Regions from separate parts of the Homo sapiens genome. Here region 2 is linked to region 1. The links are contacts of gene promoters, found by promoter capture Hi-C in blood cells and fetal thymus (Javierre and others, 2016). All regions are on one chromosome and are shown on one strand. Each heading gives the region's core, a stretch centred on a gene start or on the middle of the fragment in contact. The rest is flanking DNA. Distances are from core to core; before and after follow the strand shown.

The links. Contacts are between HindIII fragments. The CHiCAGO score rates a contact against its expected background, and 5 or more counts as called.
Region 2: a contact is called between a fragment that was not itself captured here and the fragment with the promoter of CECR3 in region 1, in 8 of 17 cell types (non-activated CD4 T cells, monocytes, total B cells and 5 more). The highest score is 6.6, in non-activated CD4 T cells.

What each region holds. Positions count from the first base shown.
Region 1 is chr22:17,264,460-17,270,128 of GRCh38, reverse strand. CECR3 (cat eye syndrome chromosome region, candidate 3) reads left to right here and starts at 3,396. Exons shown (of 3, transcript NR_038398.2): 1 at 3,396-3,606. RefSeq lists enhancers at 1-626, 4,947-5,669. The HindIII fragment of the contact is 21,393 bases long and covers 1,113-5,669 here.
Region 2 is chr22:17,221,006-17,226,674 of GRCh38, reverse strand. It overlaps a transcript of ADA2 not described here. Among named protein-coding and RNA genes, the nearest start is that of ADA2, 4.4 kb to the right of the region's middle. The HindIII fragment of the contact is 1,511 bases long and covers 3,645-5,155 here.

The DNA.
Region 1 (5,669 bases), core at 2,147-4,646:
CCAATTTGTTCACGGGCCACCTCCCCAGCCCTGCCATGGAGCAGTTGCTCAACAGATATTACCAGAGCTGGTAACTGCTGAAGCGAGTGCAGTCTCCACTGCGATCCCCTCTGTCTCAGACCTGGCATTGGGAATTTGGTGTTAAGTGGGTGTGGCTGCCAGGAAGGCACTGGAACAAAACCCTGCCCTGTGTTTCCTAAGCAGGTCAGCAGGTGAATGCGTGAACCCGCAGCCCAGCCCTGGCAAAACTTTAGTTGTCTGATGAGATAAACACCTGCCCACACCCAAGACTCCAGGCCCTCTGCTGCAAGCCTGGGTGGGTAGAAGTGGCAGGGGCGGGGGGGAGCAGAAGGGAGAGAGAGGCACAAGTGACTATCTGTCACTGCATAGCCTCACTGGGCTCTGCAGCCGGAGAACACACGAGGGACATAAGGGGTGCTGCCGAGGAGGGTGAATGTCACCTCTCCGCCCCACCCACTCAGCATGGGAGTGACACTCTGAAAACCCCTGTCAGGCCAACAGGCATTTTCAGCTTTCCCCAGTTACCCTGGAGGAGGGTTCACCAAACTGCCACCTGGGTGTGTGATTTGGCTGAAGAGCTCTGCCAGGTCCTTCCCACCCACTAAATAAGGGGAAACAATGGTAGGGAGCAGATGTTTGCCCCCAAGCTCCTCAGGGTGGAGGCAGCTTCTCCTTCTTCTGCCTCTGTGTGGGAGTCAACTGAGGAAGATGGAGCCTCCCGGTGGGTGGAAAGGAGGTGTAGAGTGAATGGGGAGGGGAGATGCTCTAAAAGCGTGCCCCAGATGGTGTTGAGAGGAAAATCCCTGGGTTAGAGCTCAACATCCTGGCTCTGTTTCAGTGGCTGTCCCCCCACCTTCACCTTTCCTAGTTATACATCACAGCATCTTTGTCTGTAGAATTCTGGGGGTGGGAGGTGTGACCCTGAGGGCCCCACATCTTCCTCGGTGCACAGTCCCCCAGCACCCACCTCCCCAGAACCCCCACCTGCACCTGCACTGCCTGGCCTTCCTTCCTTAGCAAGACAGAATTCCTGACAGCCCCAGGGGTTAGGAACAGCTGCATGTGAAGCCCACAGCGGCCTTTCTGAAGCTTTACCCAAGTTCTGCTCCCTGGAGCCACATGGAAGGAAGTTCTGCCTGACAGCCTTTCCAGCACCCTGGGAAGCTGCCGATTTATTTTCTTTACCCCTGACTTCACTTATCTAGGATCCCAACAGAGACTGACAAAGCCAGAGACCCTGATGGTTTAGGATTCCAAGGTTTCTTATGCCTCTAGCTGCTCAGCCAGGAGCTTTCTTGATTTTGTGTTTTTCAAATGAGAAGCATCTTACCAGCTAAGTAAGTCTAAGAGTGTCATGACTCATGGACCTTGGAAACCAATGGTCAGTAGTTTGGGATTCTTTGGGTGGATCAAGAGATTTTCTTGGGGACCTAGGAGCACCTCGATGTGTGGAGGGCCTGAGCAGATGGACTAGTGCCCTCCTCTGGATGGAATTGGAGGTTCCCCTTACGCCCCAATCCCTCCACCCCTGCCCTGGGGCTTTTTTTTTTTTTTCTTTTTTTGCTTGGTGGAATGGGAGAGTACTTTTCAAAGTTACAGTTACATAGAAAAGTTAAAATCACAGCACTATTGCATATCTGAGTGCCAAGAATTACGTTTGTCTTGCTGCAGGTGAGGGAAATGAGGTCACTTCTCAAGAAGTTTGCATTTTCTGAGAAAATGTGGACACAATGGAAAAGCCAAGGCATAAAACCATACACCTGAGAAGGCTGAAGCAAATTGCTCCAGGACTTACAGCACAGTGGGTACGTGTTCCGCAGGTGAGAGGCAGCCTCTGCAGAGGCTGACAAGTCCTTTTTGGATGACACTGTGACTCAGCCCTCATATTCCCCTCTCCAGGGCGATGATCCACCTGGTGCTGTGGCTGCTGAGATTCTAGTCATCCTACTCGCTCTAGGCTGGTGTGATTCTTTTGTTTGTTTGTTTGTTTGAGATAAGTCTCGCTCTGACGCCCAGGCTGGAATGCAATGGTTTGATCTCAGCTCACTGCAGCCTCTGCCTTCCGGGTCCAAGCGATTCTTGTGCCTCAGGCTCCTGAGTACTGGGACTATAGGCGCCCAACAACACAACTGGCTAATTTTTGAATTTTTAGTAGAGACGGGTTTCACCATATTGGCCAGGCTGGTTTCGAACTCCTGACCTCAAGTGATCCGCCCACCTCGGCCTCCCCAAGTCCTGGGACTACAGACCTGAGCCACTGCGCCTGGCCTAGACTGGTGTCATTCTGACATTTCCAGGCCACGAAGCAGTCCCAGACTCAGCAGCCCTGGGCATCTGCCGTAGCCCTGTTGTATGATCTGCTCTGCCACTCATGAGGCATGACTCACCCTCCTACCCTCTCCGAGCCTCAGTTTACTCATTTAAATCTCAAAGCCTCCACAGATAATTGGGAAATGAAAGGAAAATCGTGTAAGTATGAATACCTTCCACAGATAGCGGGATCTCATTAATACTAGTTTTCCCCTTTCCATACCTCCCAGCAAAGAAAAGTTGGTAACTGCAGGCCTCTGAACTAGTGCCCCACATCGGAGATACCGGCCACTTCTTACTGAACATTTGCCTGTGTCTACTATAAGGATATAAGATCATCTCAACCTCCCAAGAAGCCGATATTAGCACCCCCATTTTTGCAGCTAAAGAAACTTAGGTGCAGAAAAATGAAATAGCATATTCAAGGTCACAGAATGACCTGGGGCAGAGCTACAGTCTAGACCCCCATCTGTCTGATATAAACCCCATTCTATGAACCCTCAACATTGCTACTCCCCTTCCAACGCCACTGGAGCAGAAAGCTCCAAAACTGGGTGAAGCACATACAGCTCTATAGCAGGCAACCCCATTCCTGTGTTCCACCTAGTGAAGAACCAGGAGGTTGTGCATGACCAAGGTGGTTCAGGGTGAAGGTCAGGGGCTGGCTGAAAATGGAAGGCATCTCAGGCTGGGTCTTTGACTGTGATTATGTCAGGGTTGGGGCTGAAATATTGTGAGTGGTAACTGAGGTTTCAACCTCTTCCCTAGGAAAGAGTGGGGGTGGGGTGGTGAAGCTGGTTAATTGAGATGGGAGGGTTGGGGTGGGGGCAGGCAGAGCCTTCCAAGGCCTTCAGATCCGGTGCTGTTACCGTAAACAAGTGCAACCCTCAGCTCCCTGGAGGGCCTGGGGAGCAAATGCGTGCATCCCTGCTTCGTTCCCAGCAGCTGTTCACTGGAGGACGCAGCCTGCCATCCCCAGCCGACCTCCTCCACAGCCTTCCCCAGCCCCCAGATCAAGCCTCAGGAAGTGGCGCTGCTGAGAATCTCTCCTCCAGCCCTGCCTCCTGCCGAGAGTGTCTTCAGCGCCAGCATTTCCTGGCCTAATTAAGCTGGGTAATGAGTAGCTAAGAGGAGGGGATAAAAGCCCTAGGCGGCTTAGAGCTGGGACAGTTTATGACAGGGGCGTCTGCAGCTGGTGACATTCCTAGGAAAATTATTTCTCATAACCCTGGGAAGTTGCATGCTGTTTCCTTAGCAGCAGAGTAAGCCTCAAAGGTGAGCATGGGGAACACTGCATCTTAAGGGGGCCTGACTGGAGGGTCCTAAAGGTGACAGGTGGGGGGTGCCATGTGTCTGTAGGACTGATCAGAGCTGCAGAGCAGCTACAGGCCACCCGGGCTAATGCCCTTAGCTTAGTCCGAGGCCGGGGCATCCGTGGTGGCCACGTGACTCCCCAGGGCTTGGGTTTTGTGTTTCTTCTGAATGATAGGACTCTGCACAGCATGCAGTTTCTAAGACCGTATCCTTTCAGGGAAGGAAATCTGAGCTAGAGGCTCTGATCCTGACTCCTCCGCAGCCCACTATTAAGGGTGTGAAAATTGTGTTTTGGAAAATATCAGGTGCCCCAGCAGCCAGGAGTGGGTAGAAGAGCTCTCAGACAGGGGCCCTGGGGGAAAGGGGAAGGTGGGCACCAGGCGCTCTGGACACCAGGGCCCGCCCTTCCAGAGACACTCAGGAGCCCAGCGTTGATTATCCCCACTCCCACTCTGCAGCCACAGCCTCAGCCCCCAAATTCTCCTTCTTTGGCACTCAGTTTTGTTTGTTTGTTTTTTGTGTCAGTTCTGTTTGTTTTTGTTTTCTTCAGTCACCTTGCACTCCTTCCTTAGTTGGCCAGGGAACTTCGTGCTGTATGGGGTGGAGCAGGGCAAGGCCCAGGCTCTGGAGCTCGGCCCATCCCCACGTCTCTGAGTGAACTTGGGAGATCAGGTGACCTCTCAGCCATGGTTTTCCCATTTGTAGAATGAAGGCATTAGTGATGTCTAGTGTCCAGTATGTTATGAACCGCAACCTCCACTTGGCCTGTGAGTGGCGAGCGAGGCTGAAATTGGGCCATGTTTCCCAGACCTTTCAAATTAGGTTACCCAGTTTCACCCAAGAACATTTTTGCCCCAATTATCCTGTAAAGCAGAGTCATAGCTAGTGAGTATGTATTTTATTATTATTATTACTGTTATTATTAGAAACAGGGTCTCATTCTGTCATCCAGGCTGGAATGCCATGGTGTGAACATGGTTCGACCTCCCGGGCCCAAGCAATCCTCCCACCTCAGCCACCCGAATGGCTGGGACCACAGACACGTCACCACACCCAGCTAATTTTTGGTATTTTTTGTAGAGACTGGGTTTCACCATGCTGCCCAGGCTGGTCTCAAACTCTTGGGCCCAAGCGATCCTCCTGCCTTTGCCTCCCAAAGTGCTGGGATTACAAGCGTGAGTCACTTCGCCTGGCTGAATACCTGTTTTTGATGATGGAAGGGCCCATTCTCCTGCACTCTTGTAATCAATATTTGTTCTTTTCCAATTTTCTAAACAAGACCTGTCTGGTGCAATGTCCTCCGAGCCCCGCTTCCTCCACGGCTGGAGCCGGGAGCGGCAGGGAATGTGTGGGCATTCCGTCTTTCCTTCTGATCGCCGCCCTTCACCCTCTGCCCTTGGCTGTTCCCACAGTCCCATCTATTCCCCTGGCCTCCTGCTTGTCTCTCTAAACGAGGAGTGAGTATGCAGATCACAAATAACCTGGTGTTTCCGTTTTTCCCTCTGGCGGTGGTTGCCCCTGGAGTGGAAGGAGACCTGGTGGCCAGATGCCTGACATGGCCGGGACAGCTGGTGCTCTCAGCATTCCTGGGGAAGGTCCCTGGGGATTGGACTTGAGGGGATCACACCAAGAAGAGGGGTGAGCAGGCCTGGCAGCTCACCCCTGTGACCCAGCTCACCTCTGGCTGGGCTGCCTGGCATGATCCCCCGGCCCGGCCGGCAGCAGCTGCGCAGGCCAGGGGAGCCAAATGGCTCTGCATGTGTAATCCTAGCTAAAAAGAGAAAGGGGAAAGATCTTGTAATTTCCCAGGACACAGACAACTGAAACCTGACACTCTTGCCAAGGAAGTCCTTTCACTGAGAGAGAGAGAGAGACAGAGAAGGAGGGAGGGAGGGGAGTGTGTGAGAGCCCACTCTGGAAGGTTCCGGGAGAGACAGAGAGAAGGAGGGAGGGCGGGGAGTGTGTGAGAGGCCATTCTGGAAGGTTCCGGGGCCAGCAGGAAGCCCTGAGCACAGCTCTCCTGT
Region 2 (5,669 bases), core at 3,151-5,650, 44 kb after region 1:
TTTGTATTTTTAGTAGAGACAGGGTATCACCATATTGGCCAGGCTGCTCTCAAGCTCCTGACCTTGTGATCCGCCCACTTTGGCCTCCCAAAGTGTTGGGATTACAGGCGTAAGCCACTGCGTCCAGCGCTTTTTTTTTTTTGAGATGGAGTCTCACTCTGTTGCCCAGGCTGGAGTGCAGTGGCACGATCTCAGCTCACTGCAACCTCCTGCCTCCCGGGTTCCAACGATTCTCCTTCTCAGCCTCCTGAGTAGCTGGGAGTACAGGTGTGGGCCACCATGCCTGGCTAATTTTTGTATTTTTAGTAGATACAGGGTTTCACCATGTTGGCCAGGCTGGTCTCAAACTTGTGACCTCAGGTGGTCCACCCGCCTTGGCCTCCCAAAGTACTGGGATTACAGGTGTGAGCCACCACACTAGCCAGAGTGTTCATATATTGGATTTCTTGAACTGTTCATCCTTTTAAAAAATCTTTTCCTTTCATTTTATTTTCTTTGTTCTTTCACTCTACTTTCTGGGAGATATCCTTACCTGTGTCATTGAACTCTTTTTTTTTTGAGACAGAGTCTTGCTCTGTCACCCAGGCTAGAGTGCAGTGGCACCATCTTGGCTCACTGCAACCTCTACCTCCTGGGTTCAAGCGATTCTTCTGCCTCAGTCTCCCGAGTAGCTGAGACTACAGGCACGAGCCACCACGCCCGGCTAATTTTTGTACTTTTGGTAGAGACGGGGTGTCACCATATTGGCCAGGCCTATCTCAAACTGCCGACCTCAGGTCATCTGCCCGCTTTGGCCTCCCAAAGTGTTGGGATTACAGGCGTGAGCCACGGCGCCCGGCTACCCTTTTTTTTTTTTTGAGATGGAGTTTCACGCTTGTTGCCCAGGCTGAAGTGCAATGGCATGATCTCGGCTCACTACAACCTCCACCTCCCGGGTTCAAGCGATTCTCCTGCCTCAGCCTCCCAAGTAGCTGGGATTACAGGTATGCGCCACCACGCCTGGCTAATTTTTGTATTTTTAGTAGAGACGGGGTTTCTCCACGTTGGTCAGCCTGGCCTCGAACTCCCTACCCCAGTTGATCAGCCTGCCTCGGCCTCCCCAAGTGCTGGGATTACAGGTGTGAGCCACTGCGCCCAGCCACCATTCAACTCTTTTGTTGTTTTTCGTTTTTAGTCTCTTATTGTTGTTTCCAGAACATCTTTTTCATTCTTTTTTTTTGAGACAGAGTCTCGCTCTGTCGCCCAGGCTGGAGTGCAGTGGCATAATCTCAGCTCACTGCAAGCTCCACCTCCCGGGTTCATGCCATTCTCCTGCCTCAGCCTCCCAGGTAGCTGGGACTACAGGCGCCCGCCACCACGCCTGGCTAATTTTTTGTGTTTTTAGTAGAGACGGGGTTTCACCGTGTTAGCCAGGATGGTCTTGATCTCCTGACCCTGTGATCCACCCGCCTCAGCCTCCCAAAGTGCTGGGATTACAGGTGTGAGCCACCGCGCCTGGCCCCAGAGCATCTTTTTCATTCTTTGCCTATTCCTTTTCTATAGAATCCTGTTGTTGTTTTGTGGGCATAACATCTTTTATATCTCTAAGGCTAATAATCTTAGATAAAGTTTTCTTCTCCCTCTTATTCTTTTTCTTCTGAGATGCTCTTTCTCTGTCATAAAATAGTATTTCTCAAAGGTAGTAACTCTTGGCTGTCTACTTATATTTAAGAGTAGGGTACTAAAAGGATGTTATAAGCTCTTTGTATGTGGGAAGGGCAGGGAGGGAGGAAGCTATGTTGCCATGAGTTTTACTAGATCGTGACCTGGTACATCCCTTTAAATATCATTAGGTCTTTCCAGTGAGGCTGGATAAAGCCCTAGAGAAGGCTTTTCCCTCTTCTTGACTGTGGATATAAGTTGCTGATGTTTGGGAGACTAATAGGGGAGAAAGGCTTGGAAGACTCAGTGTTCAATATGCAAAATTTAAAAAAAGTCTTCATTTTTAGTATGATAACCCCATCCTTAACTAGGCCAGAAACTCTGTTTTACCTTTCCCTGAAAACAAATCTTCACTGCTCTGCTGAAGAGGGAGTGGGAGGAATGTCTGTGGCTCTAGGTTTTTGTTAAAAAGGCTTTCCAGCCATTCCTCCATTTCTCCTGCTTTGGACTTACCTTCAGCCTCACTTTCACAGGTATCCGAGGTTTCTTTCGTCACTGCTGGTTTCAGATTCAGTGTTTGTTTTTTTTGTTTGTTTGTTTGTTTTTTTGTCTTCTAAATTATTAGCACTTGTTTATGTACCTTCCATCTTCCAAGTTTTTTTTTGCTATTTTCTCCTTTCTTGCTTTCTTCAACCTTGTGAATATATGCTTAATTTTTTTCCCCACTGTCATTTTAGTGCAGGTTTTGGAGAGGAACTAAGGTTAATTCATGTGTTCAGCCTGCAATCTCTAATTGAGAATCCATCCATGCACTTGTGAATATGCCCCAACTCATAGAGCAATTGAAGGGGCTCTCACTGGTACTGTTGGAGTATCTTGTTCTTCAGTCCCTAGACCACAAGAAGTAAAGCATTAGAGGGAGAGGATTGCTGGAATTTAGACCTACCCAGAATGACAAGTGAACTGCATAGGAAGGGACAGAAAAATTATATAAAAATACATACAAGCAGAGCAGTCTGAAGCCATTTAGGACAGGGGCAAACAAAGCTCCACACCTCACTGGCATTGGAAATAGAGTGATAATGCAATAGCAATAGAAAGTATTATGATAAATGCTCATAATAATGATACCAAGTCCTCAAAAAAGATCAAATTATGTTCACTGCACCCTAAGAAGCCAGAAAAAATACTAGAAAGATTTGTGCAAGGAAAATTACTTATGCTGGGCTGGGCACGGTGGCTTACACCTGTAATCCCAGCACTTTGGGAGGCCGAGGCGGGCAGATCACCTAAGGTTGGGAGTTGGAGACCAGCCTGACCAACATGGAGAAACCCCGTCTCTACTAAACAAAACAAAACAAAACAAACAAACAAACAAAAATTAGCCAGGCGTGGTGGCACATGCCTGTAATCCCAGGTACTCGGGAGGCTGAGGCAGGAGAATCACTTGAACCCGGGAGGCGGAGGTGGTGGTGAGCCGAGATCATGCCACTGCACTCCAGCCTGGGCAATAAGAGTGAAACTCCTTCTCAAAAAAAAAGAAAAATGAAAATCATTTATGCTGTGTAATTGTATAGTTGCTTTATAGTTTTAAAAATATTTTCAGCCAGGCACAGTGGCTCACGCCTGTAATGCCAGCACTTGGAAGACTGAGGCAGGTGGATCACGAGGTCAGGAGTTCAAGACCAGCCTGGCCAAGATGGTGAAACCCCGTCTCTACTAAAAATACAAAAAAAAAATTAGCCAGGCATGGTGGCAGGTGCCTGTAATCCTGGATACTCGGGAGGCTGAGGCAGAGAATTGCTTGAGACTGGGAGGCAGAGGCTGCAGACAGCCAAGATTGTGCCACTGCACTCCAGCCTAGGTGACACAGCGAGACTCTGTCTCAAAAAAAAATTTTCACATATATTATTTCATACATACACACACACAAAAAACTTACTTAGAAAAAAAAAACTTAGTAGGAGGCACATGACATTTTTTCCTTCTTGCAGATTAAAGCTTTGAGTTTTATGGATATTAGGACATTTTCTTCAAAACCACATAGCAGTTCAATGAAAGAGCTAACTTTTCTGCTTCCTAAAAATACTTTGGTGTTTCAAAACACAAGTTCCCAGTGTCTGGAAAAATCACTTATGCCTGGTAACGTCTATTCCTGGGCTCCACTTTTGCTAATTGTGTGTTCCTCCAGGGATCTGCTTCCTTGTGCCCGGTGACTCCCCCACTACTTCAAAAACCTTCCATTTTCTTGCTGCCAGGGAAAGCGGTGTGGTGGAACCCACCTGGGCCTGCAAGGCCGTGCTATGCTTGTTACTAGCTGTGTGACCTTGGGCAAGTTACCTTACTGCCAGGTGCTTCAGGGTACGCCTCTCTCAAGTGGGGATTGCAATAGTCCCTACCTTATAAGATTGCTGCAAGGATTAAATGAGTATATATACACACACACACATACACACACATATTTGTATATACTCATTTATAGGTATGTATTGCTGTAGGGATTAAATGTTATATATATATATATATATATATATATATATATATATATATATATATACACACACACATACATATATAATTCTTAATATGCCTTAGCAATTATTATTTCCATTTTCTTAACTCTGGGTCAGAGAATCTTATTTACCTCATATAACAATCATATATGCAGCACTTTAAACCACTGGTAACTCTGCTATACTCTGTTATAGGTTGTGCATAGCATATAATTCATGATATTGGTGTGAAGAAAGGGATGTTTTAATGAAAATACCTCTCAAATGTTTGTGTAGCCATAGATGATCTTTAATTCTGAAAACCTCTCCTGTCTCCAATTCTGAGGTCATAATCCACCTGTCTCTTCAGGCATCTTTCTGTTGAGGTTTAGTTTTGCAGTCACTAAAAGATGCCTTTGTCCTGTTTTTCTGCCCTGCAGATTTTCAGGTTCTGAACACAAGCCCAGTTTCTGCTTCTGATGATCATTTTCAATAGAGCATAAAAAACAGAGCCATGTTCCACGTTTTTACGGCCTCTGCACTTGGCAAAATATTCTTCCCGAATGGCCTCACGTGTGCTCCCTATCATCACGCCTTTTCAGCTAGGCAACGCTCAGAGTCACACCTGAGTGGAGGCCGACGCCCCTTTGGAGGCGACTCCAGCCATAAAAAGTCCTGCTTGGAGCTGGTTTTAGCCACAGAGGGCCAATAAATGGCCCCTTCTGAATGAGGTGCCCCTGCACCTCTGCAGAGCCTGCTGCCAGCCTCCAGGATCTAACTGGGCTCTGATTCACCGCTCCCAACCCCACATCCAGGTAAGTGTGCCCAGCTCTTGTCTCTGCTTCCACCTCAAGATCTGAGTCTCCACTCCCCAGAACCCGGCAGGTTCTGCCTGACAAGGACCTGCAGTCCTCTGCCAGCTGCCACACCCTTGCCAAGGTGTGACTTGGAGTCCTGGAGCCACCTTCGGAGATGTGAAAATTAGCTCCTACTTTTAGCTAAAGCGTTTGGAAAGAAAAGCTTGATCTTTAGCTTTGACCTGGTCTTTAAAAAAACCCTTCAAGGGGAACATCACACACCAGGGCCTGTCGGGGGGGTCGGGGCTGGGGGAGGGATAGCATTAGGAGAAATACCTAATGTAAATGATGTGTTGATGGGTGCAGCAAACCAACATGGCACAGGTATACCTATGTATCAAACCTGCACATTGTGCACATGTACCCTAGAACTTAAAGTATAAAAAAAACCCACAAAAAACCCTTCACATGATTTACTTTCAGAATTGGTGGTTTCCCTTTGTGCGGCGCTGGAATCAATCTTGTTTCTCCTTATTACTTGCGGTGCATTCTGCTTCCTCTAACTTTCAAAAAATTAGTGTTAAACTCTTTTTTTTTTTTTTGAGACAAAATCTCACTCTGTCATCCAGACTGGAGTGCAATGGTGCAATCTCAGCTCACTGCAACCTCCACCTCCAGGGTTCAAGCAATTCTCCTGCCTCAGCCTCCCAAGTAGCTGGGATTACAGGTGCGCACCACC